Regions from separate parts of the Homo sapiens genome. Here regions 2 and 3 are each linked to region 1. The links are contacts of gene promoters, found by promoter capture Hi-C in blood cells and fetal thymus (Javierre and others, 2016). All regions are on one chromosome and are shown on one strand. The core of a region is centred on a gene start or on the middle of the fragment in contact, and the rest is flanking DNA. Distances in the headings are between cores, read along the strand shown.

Region 1 (2,986 bases), core at 101-2,600:
CCTCCCTCCACGACTTCCTTTTCCACCAGGACTGAGTTCCAACTCCTAGAACTGCCCGCCCCGGCCAGAATGATGACGGAGAATGCCAAACACATAAGTGCTTTTTCATCGTTGTACTTCCACTTAAAAAATCCTGACAACTGAGTTCAAGACCAGCCTGGCCAAGATGGTGAAACCCTGTCTCTACTAAAAATACAAAAATTAGCCAGGCGTGGTGGCGGGCGCCTACAATACCAGCTACTCGGGAGGCTGAGGCAGACAATTGCCTGAACCCGGGAGACGGAGGTTGCAGTGAGCCGAGATCGCGCCACTGTACTCCAGCCTGGGCGACCAGAGCAAGACTCGCCTCAAAAAAAAAAAAGAAAAAAAAAAATCCTGACAACCACCAGACTGTCTCCTGGAGACCAGAGAAGTGAGTGACAGAAAGATGAAAAGGTACAAGAACGCGTTTAACTTAATATTCAGTTTGTACAATAAACAACAAAAACTAGTTAACTACAATTAAAAATGGTTGTCCATCACTCGAACAACGAGAAACGGTAGCTCTTACCTTCCTATTAATGGCCAAAAGGAAACCTAGCTGCGACTTCCAACCCCGGGCCCCCGCCTCTTTTTCAATTCCAACCTAAGTTTTCAGGAGTATGCTTAGGTGACGCGAGGCTTTATTCTGTTTTGAAAGGGATTCACTGAGAAAGCGAAAGGTCCACGCTCTGATATCCAGCCGGAGAGTAGTAACCGCGTCTCCGAGAGGCGCGGACCAGACCGCGAGTCCAGGCTCCGCAGCGTTCGGGCGCCCGTCTTCTCCTCCCAGCGAACACGCACCCGCTGGGGAGTCCGCGCCGCTCCGCGGGGAGCCGGGCACCAGCGCAGGCACCGGGAGGCCAACGAGGCGGCGGCCAGCGCCCTCCCGCCCCGGGCACGCTCTCCCGCAGGAAACAGCTGGCTCGGGACGCCACGGAGCGCCTCTGGGAGGAAGCGCTAGGCACGCGGTGTCCGCACCGGGCGCGCCCCCATCCCGGGCCCGTGAGGGAGGGGGAGCGGCCGGGGCCCCGCGTCCCGACGCCCGACGCACGGGGTCCCAACGCGCGGGCAGCGGTCAATGGCCGCGAACTTCACGACCCCAGCCCCGCGGGGCCTGGCTCAGGGTCCCAGCCCCCGAACCCCGCCACGCTCGGGCCGCGACCGTTACGGGGCCCTCACCGACCCAACGCCCATCCCGCTACGCGCCGCCCCCTCGCTTACCTTCTTAGGGTCCGGGTTCGCGGCCAGGCGCGCCTGCAGCTTCTCCACAACTTGGAGCGCCGACTCCGCCGCCATCGCTGTCACTGGCGCGGCCTCCTCGCCGGAACTGGGCTCGCGTCGCGTCCTCGGGCCGCAGCTCCGCCCTCCGTGCATCCCCGGCGGAGACGGAAGCGCGCCTGGCCCCTTCCGGGCCTCGGCTGGGGTGTGTGGGGGGCGGTGGGCTGCAGGCTCCGCCCCCAGGGCCCGCTCCCCAGCGCCCACCCGGCGGCCGCGCACTCCTCGCGCCCCTGGCCCAAGTGTGCGCGCTGGGGGCTGGGGGCTGCTCGGGCCGTACGCGCCTCCGCCGCCGGCACCCCCGCTCCCTGTGCTCGCGTGCTGAGCCCAAGCCTGGAAGACCTCTCCAGGGTCTACTTCAAGACGGAATGAGGCCACCGCGCCAGACCCTGGCCTTATAAATGCCAACGCTTTCTCCCGCCTGGGGCTTAGCCACACCCTAATCAACACCTTGTCAGGGGTCCCGGGCTGGTGCCCGTCCTAGGAGTCCGCAGGCACCCGCGGTAGCAGCCACCCTAGGCTGAGCACACGATGCGTCAGTAGTTAGACTATCTTTTCCAGCCTCAGTACAACCTGATGAAACGAGTTGTATGATCTTCATTTTACAGATGAGGAAACTGAGGTTCAGGGAGACCAAATTAACTTGCAGATGGCCGCAGGACAGGAAAGAACTGAAAATGGAACCTGAATCTAAGATGTCTAGGACCATTGTGAGCGCACATTTCTGAACAGGTCGAGGAATTGAGGCCCAGAGAAAGGGATTTTTCAAAATCCAAACAGCTTAGTTCCTTCCATGAGGCAATAATAGCCCATGTGTCTTGTTTTCCCCACAAACAGTGTCTGGCACATAGGCACTAAATAAATACTTATTGCATGAATGTATAGATAGATAGATGTTTCCTCTGATGACTTGCCAATGAGCCGTATGGCTTGATTAGAAGAGCCCAAGATATTATTCTTCAGGCCGTCTACTCTCATCCTAAAAGCACTAAGTTTTACCATTACTAATACTACTACTAAAAAGAGCAACTAAATAGTTGCAAACTCACTTAAAGTACCAGCACTGATTACATCTCATTTGATCACATCAAAGCAGAACCTAATCAGATCTTCAGCAGCAAATTGGCAATGCACCTAGCCTGATCTCTCCCTCAAAGCAGGAAAGCCCAGAGATTCTTCCAGATTCTAGCTCTGGAAGAAAGAAAAACATCTTAAACACAAGTTGTTTCTTCAAATGAGCATTCATTCACTCACTATGCTGAAAAGCCCTCTCTACCATGTCCCTACTCCTCCATTTGGCGCCCCTCCCCCAGTTCCCTAAGCAACTGACCACCTTTTCAGGGTGTAAATGGTCAGTTTATTTATCTGTCTTGCCACTGGGCTGTTTATTTATCAAGTACAGTAACCGACCTGTCCAACTTTGAATCTCTGCCACCTAGCATCATCTAGACCTTATAATCAGCATTGGATATAAAGTCCATACAAGACTAATGACCATCCACTTGGTACCCTAAGGCTCAACTGAGGGATGTTGTAGAAAAGGCATTGAACTGGGTGTGAGAAAACTTCGATTCTAGTCCCAGCAGTAGTGTCTCCCTCCTCTGCGTAGCAAATACTTTTACATTTTATATTCCTTCCATTTTGAAAATGTACCACTGGTGTAATGGAATACAGACTGATTCTTGAAGCA
Region 2 (3,172 bases), core at 522-3,021, 160 kb before region 1:
GCAGAGCCGCTCCCGAGGCCCCGGCGCGGCGCGAGGGCGCGGGGCGGGGGTCCACAGGCTCCGAGGCTGCCCCCGACGCCCCGCCCTCGAGGATGGCGGCGGAGCTCTACGTCCCCGCCAGCGCCGCGGCCGCGGTCCTAGCCCACAGCAACGCCGGCGCCGCCGTGGGCAGGAAGGCCGGGCAGCGCAGCCTGCACCGCGCCCCCGCGCCCGCGCCCGCGCAGCCCACACTTGGCAACAACCACCCGGAGAGCCCCAAATGGCGCGGTCCCCCACGCTGCGCGAGAGGAACGCGCTCATGTTCAACAACGAGCTCGTGGCCGACGTGCACTTTGTCGTGGGACCCCCGGGGGCGACCAGGACGGTGCCCGCCCACAAGTACGTCCTGGCTGTCTGCAGCTCCGTCTTCTATGCCATGTTCTACTGGGACCTGGCGGAAGTCAAATCTGAAATTCACATTCCAGACGTGGAGCCCGCAGCCTTTCTGATCCTATTAAAGTACGTGTACAGTGATGAGATCGATCTGGAAGCGGATACGGTGCTGGCCACTCTGTAGGCTGCTAAGAAGTACATCGTCCCAGCATTGGCAAAAGCCTGCGTCAACTTTCTGGGGACAAGTCTGAAAGCCAAGAACGCCTGCGTCCTGCTGTCCCAGAGCCGGCTGTTTGAGGAGCCCGACCTGACCCAGCGCTGCTGGGAGGTCATCGACGCACAGGCCGAGATGGCCCTGCGGTCCCAAGGCTTCTGTGAGATGGACCGGCAGACGTTGGAGATCATTGTCACTCGGGAGGCCCTCAACACCAGGAGGCGGTGGTCTTCAAGGCCGTCCTGAACTGGGCCAAGGCAGAGTGCAAGAGGCAGGGGCTGCCAGTCACCCCACGAAACAAGAGGCATGTTTTGGGGCGAGCCCTCTATCTGATCCGAATTCCAACCATGACCCTAGAGGAGTTTGCCAACGGCGCTGCCCAGTCAGACATCCAGACATCCTGACTCTGGAGGAGACCCACACCATCTTCCTGTGGTACACGGCCACCAACAAGCCCCGCCTGGACTTCCCCCTGATCAAGAGGAAGGGCCTCACCCCGCAGAGGTGCCACCTATTCCAGTCTTCTGCCTACCGCAGCAACCAATGCCAGTACTGCGGGCGCTGCGACAGCATCCAGTTTGCAGTGGACAGAAGGGTATTTATTGCGGGGCTAGGCCTGTGTGGGTCCAGCTCTGGGAAGGCTGAGTACAGCGTGAAGATTGAGCTCAAGAGGCTTGGGGTAGTTCTGGCTCAGAATCTGACCAAATTCATGTCGGACAGATCCAGTAACACCTTCCCGGTCTGGTTTGAACACCCGGTCCAGGTTGAACAAGACACCTTCTACATGGCCAGTGCTGTTCTGGACGGCAGCAACCTCAGCTACTTTGGGCAGGAGGGGATGACGCAAGTGCAGTGCAGAAAGGTGGCCTTCCAGTTCCAGTGCTCCTCGGACAGCACCAACGGGACTGGGGTCCAGGGTGGGCAGATCCCTGAGCTCATCTTCTATGCCTGAGGTGCCCGGGGAGGCTGCAGCAGGTCGGCGAGTGGATGGAGGGGAAATCAGGACACTAACTGCTTCTTGACACCATGAAAGGCCACACTTAACCTTGTCTCTCTTTGGCATGTAGTCAACTGAAGCTTGATTCTGTGAAGTAGGCACCTTTTCCACACAGCCAGAGCTGGGGGATTGGAGTCTTAGGCATCTCTGGTACACTGGGGTGCACGTCTCAGGTGGAGGAAGATTTAGGGCACAAGACAGGCCCCAGATCCCCTCCCAATGGCACCCATGCCACCTGCTTTGAGGGGTTGCATGTTCCTGCCACCCTCTTGGATACTAAGTGGTTCCAAGCTTAACTGTAGACCTTCCCTTCAAATCTAAAATCGGCAAAAAGTCACTTAAAATAAGGGACTTCTGTAATAAAGGTTGCCTACAATTAAAAAAAGAAAGAGTTACTGAGCAGTGACCATGGGTGAGGCAGGTGCACTTAAGATACGGGAGTGAACAAAACAAATAATAAGCCTTAACTCCCTTGGAGCGACCATTCTAGTGTCCTATTACTCAAATCAGTCTCCCCCAGCATTCGAGGATCAGAGATTTTAAGGACAATTTGGTTGGTAGCTGGAAACGTGGCTCGGTAAAATGGTCCAAGGTGGGAAGGATAAAAATGAGATTAGGGAGGCCAGGCACGGTGGCACATGCCTGTAATCTCAGCACTTTGGGAGGCCAAGGCGGGCGGTTCACCTGAGGTTGGGAGTTCAAGACCAGCCTGATCAACATGGAGAAACCCCATTTCTACTAAAAATACAAACTTGGCCAGGCGTGGTGGCACATGCCTGTAATCCCAGCTACTTGGGAGGCTGAGGCAAGAGAATTGCTTGAACCTGGGAGGCGGAGGTTTCAGTGAGCCGAGATTGCACCATTGCACCCTAGCCTGGGCAACAAGAGTGAAACTGTCTCAAAAAAAAAAAAAAAAAAAAAGAGATCAGGGAAGAGATGGTTGCCCAGAAGTATAAGAGAGACCCCATGCCCCTCCGTCTATAAGCCTCTAGGGGTTCACCTTGCCTGCCGCCTAGACAGAGCCGATTCATCAAGACAGGAGAATTGCAATAGAGAAAGAGTAATTTATGCAGAGCTGGCTGTGCGGGAGACCGGAATTTTATTATTACTCAAATCAGTCTCCACCAGCATTCAAGGATCAGAGTTTTTAAGGACAGTTTGTTTGGTTGCGGGGAGCCAGTGAGCCAGGAGTGCTGATTGGCCAGGGATGAAATCACAGGGGGTCGAAGCTGTCCTCTTGCGCTGAGTCAGTTCCTGGGTGGGGGCCACAAGATCACATGAGCCAGTTTATGGATTTGGGTGGTGCCAGCTGATCCATCAAGTGCAGGGTCTGCAAAGTATCTCAAGCACTGATCGCAGGAGCAGTTTAGGGAGGGTCAGAATCTTGTAGCCTCCAGCTGCATGACTCCTAAACCTTCCTTCCTTTCTTTCTTTCTTTTCTTTCTTTCTTTCCTTTCTTTCTTTCTTTCCTTTCTTTCTCTTTCCTTTCTTTCTCTTTCTTTCTCTTTCTTTCTTTCTCTTTCTTTCTTTCTCTTTCTTTCTTTCTCTCTCTCTCTTTCCTTCCTTCCCTCTTTCTTTCTTTTCTTTCT
Region 3 (3,196 bases), core at 171-2,670, 240 kb after region 1:
CATCCACCCCTCAGGGAGCTAGGTTTTCTCAGAGGCTCAGCTGGACAGCACTTTTTAGAAAAGTTTGTAGCATTAAGCTGGTTTAAAATATGAAGTTGGTTTTGTTGGATGGCTCCTGAGCTGACTGACTGATGTCTGAAGTTTGAGACGAGGGATTATTTCAGGGTGGGGCCCAATGTGATCTAATGCCCAGCTGGGGACAATTGTGCCTCATCATTTGCTCAAATTCCTGGGCCCCCAAGTTAGCCCCCTCCCAGGAGTGGTCAGCGGGTCACAGCTGCCCCCACTCTATAAGCAGGGCTAATTGTGTACCCTTTGCAGAAATGCTTTTGGTCTCCTACCCAAATACTCACAAGGGTCTTATCAGACGCCCGTCTTAAAGTCCAGCATGCTCAGGGACCCTGTGTAGGATCTCGTTTGTGGTGAGTGGGCTGCTCTGAGGTCTCCACTGGGCTGCCATTTAGCCATGTGCCATCTCTGAAGTCAGAGGTGTTTGACTCCCATTCCTTGGGCTCTGGAGCTTTCCCCAAGAATTACATCAGAGAAAAGGAAGAAGGGGCCTGCAGGACCCATTGGGAATGAGTTTAATACTGAAGTCTGGAATGTAAGCTCATGCCCTAGAGGCCTCTCCATATGGCTGGTCAGGGGAGCTGCCTTCAGGCTTGTGCCCCGTGTGCTCAGCAGCTGCCTCTGTCCCCCTCTACTGTCCCTTTCACACCTTGCCTGGCCAAGGGGCTAGACCTCCCAGGCTAAGCCTCAGATTCAGTGCAGGACACAAGCTCATGCCCCCGTCTTGCCAGTGACACTTGAAGCCTCCCGACTTCCACAGAGTGCTTCAGGACACATTTTGAGTGGTATTTTCTTTTCTTTTTTTCTTCTTTTTTTTTTTTTTTGAGATGGAGTCTCGCTCTGTTGCCCAGGCTGGAGTGCAGTGGCCTGATCTCGGCTCACTGCAACCTCTGCCTCCCAGGTTCAAGCGATTCTTCTGCCTCAGCCTCCAGAGTAGCTGGGACTATAGACATGCACCACCACGCCCGGCTAATTTTGTATTTTTGGTCGAGACGGGGTTTTGCCATGTTAGTCAGGCTGGTCTTGAACTCCTGACCTCAAGTGATCCACCACCTCGGCCTCCCAAAGTGTTGAGATGACAGGCACGAGCCACCAGGCCCAGCCTGAGTGGTATTTTCTTTAGGGACCAGGTAGACTTTAAAACGAGGGTAAGAGAAAAGCCAGTGTCTTTCTGAGGTAAATAATTTCTGCCAGGAAACTTCCCAGCCCCACCAGCAGCCCCCCTAAAAAAATCACTCGTGTCCCCAGGGACTTCTAAAGCTTGGGGCTCCAGGAAATCATCCAGTAGAGTTGGAGATTCAGAGATTTCTTGAAGCCAGGGACATGCTCCTAACTCCTTTCCCATTAAAGGTGTTAGAATAGACCAGAGGGTGTCCCTTTTCCACAGTAATGGGATCGGCTGGTGTGCCTTCAGGGAGGAAGAGGGAGGTGGTCAAGCTTGAAAAACTGGCTTTAGGATGGTTCTGACTTTGTTCTCCCTCCCCAAGTGTTCTCAACCTCCATTCTGCAGTGTTCAGAGTTTTAGGGAAAGGGTTTGGGTGCCCCAGCATCCAGGTGTTGTGTGGCTTAGCGCATGTGAAGTGAAAACCTTCTGGGGTTGTTTGGAAGCAGCTTTCTGGTTCTTGTGATTGTATCCTGAGGTCCCAGAACCCTATTCTCCCACGAGGATCCTCAGTGACCATGGTGGCCACACGCCTGGCCAGCCTGCTGGCTCCTGGGTGAGCTGAAGAACCTTGCCTGTGGCACTTTTCGAGGGTGAGCTGGAACCGAGAGAACATGGTCCCCGTGCTGGGACTCATGCGGGTCATTTCCTGCCGGCCTGGTTTCGCCTGGTCGTGTCTTTATGAGCACCATGTAAGCCTCCTTGTATTGAGATAATTGGGCATTAAACATTAAACTGCAGCTCTGGGCATCTTGTCTTTGTCGTGCTTTCTGAAGCTCATTACCAACTGTGGATCTGGTCCCCGCAGGCTGGGTGTTGGGGGCTGTCCTGGCCAATGCTGGGGGCACATGATTGCCCAGTGGATTTCCCTCCAAGATACAGTCTCTTATCACCATGCCTGCAATCTCACCATTAAGGCACTGAAAAGTTCGCAGCACCCAGATCTAAAATGTGATCAGCCCTGACTCTGTCTCCCCCATCTATTTCCACAGCTTCCTGAAAGGTCTTGCTGCCCACACTCTCCCTCCCACCCTCTACATCAGTGGGTCCAACTGTAGTCCTCAGACCAGCAGCAGCAGTATCACCTGGAAATGTGAGACATGCATATTCAAGACCATGCCTCACGCTGGGTGCGGTGGATCACTTGAAGTTAGGAGTTCAAGACCAGTCTGGCCAGCATGGTGAAACCCCATCTCTGCTAAAAATATAAAAAAATTAGCCGGGCTTGGTGGCGGGTGCCTGTAATCCAAGCTACTGAAGAGGCTGAGGCAGGAGAATCGCTTGAACCCAGGAGGCAGAGGATGCAGTGAGATCACACCACTGCACTCCAGCCTGGGCTACATAGTGAGACTCTGCAAAAAAAAAGGCCAGGTGCAGTGGCTCACGCCTGTAATCCCAACACTTCGAGAGTCCAAGGCGGGCGGATCGCAAGGTCAGGAGATTGAGATCATCCTGGCTAACACAGTGAAACCCCGTCTCTACTAAAAAAATAAAATAAATTAGCGGGCATGGTTGCAGGCGCCTGTAACTCCAGCTACTCAGGAGGCTGAGTCAGGAGAATCACTTTAACCCAGGAGGCAGAGGTTGCAGTGAGCCGAGATGGCGCCATTGCATTCCAGCCTGGGCAACAGAGCGAGACTCCGTCTCAAAAAAAAAAAGAGACCTTGCCTCAGACCTGCTGAATAAGAAACTCATGGGGCGGGACTCAGTATTCTGAGGCTCCATGAACCTCCCAGGTGAGTCTAATGCAGCTGAAGTTTGAGAATGCATGCCTTCTGCTGCCCCAGAGAGATCTTTCTACACTTGATCTTAGCCAAAAGGCTGAGAAGCGATCCCCAGAAAGATCTTTCTAAAATGTAGTTCTAATCGCGTTACTCTCCTGCTTAATGCCCATCCATGGCTCCTCTCTGCCCTCGGGATGAAGTTCTAACCCTTTTGCATGGTATAAATGGCTATTTACAACTT

What was found. Contacts are between HindIII fragments. The CHiCAGO score rates a contact against its expected background, and 5 or more counts as called.
Region 2: a contact is called between a fragment that was not itself captured here and the fragment with the promoter of ELOA in region 1, in 1 of 17 cell types (total CD8 T cells). The highest score is 5.1, in total CD8 T cells.
Region 3: a fragment that was not itself captured here is called in contact with the fragment with the promoter of ELOA in region 1 in 1 of 17 cell types (naive B cells); the score reaches 6.9 in naive B cells.

Annotation. Positions count from the first base shown.
Region 1 is chr1:23,741,835-23,744,820 of GRCh38, reverse strand. It overlaps ELOA (elongin A), which reads right to left and starts at 1,350. Exons shown (of 11, transcript NM_003198.3): 1 at 1,243-1,350. The coding sequence starts at 1,317. RefSeq lists silencers at 689-1,168, 1,319-1,548. The HindIII fragment of the contact is 10,892 bases long and covers 1-2,986 here.
Region 2 is chr1:23,899,837-23,903,008 of GRCh38, reverse strand. All of the region lies in intron 1 of CNR2 (cannabinoid receptor 2), which reads left to right. It also overlaps the pseudogene BTBD6P1. Among named protein-coding and RNA genes, the nearest start is that of CNR2, 12 kb to the left of the region's middle. The HindIII fragment of the contact is 211 bases long and covers 1,666-1,876 here.
Region 3 is chr1:23,505,213-23,508,408 of GRCh38, reverse strand. It overlaps E2F2 (E2F transcription factor 2), which reads left to right. Exons shown (of 7, transcript NM_004091.4): 7 at 1-1,971. Among named protein-coding and RNA genes, the nearest start is that of ASAP3, 23 kb to the right of the region's middle. The HindIII fragment of the contact is 177 bases long and covers 1,332-1,508 here.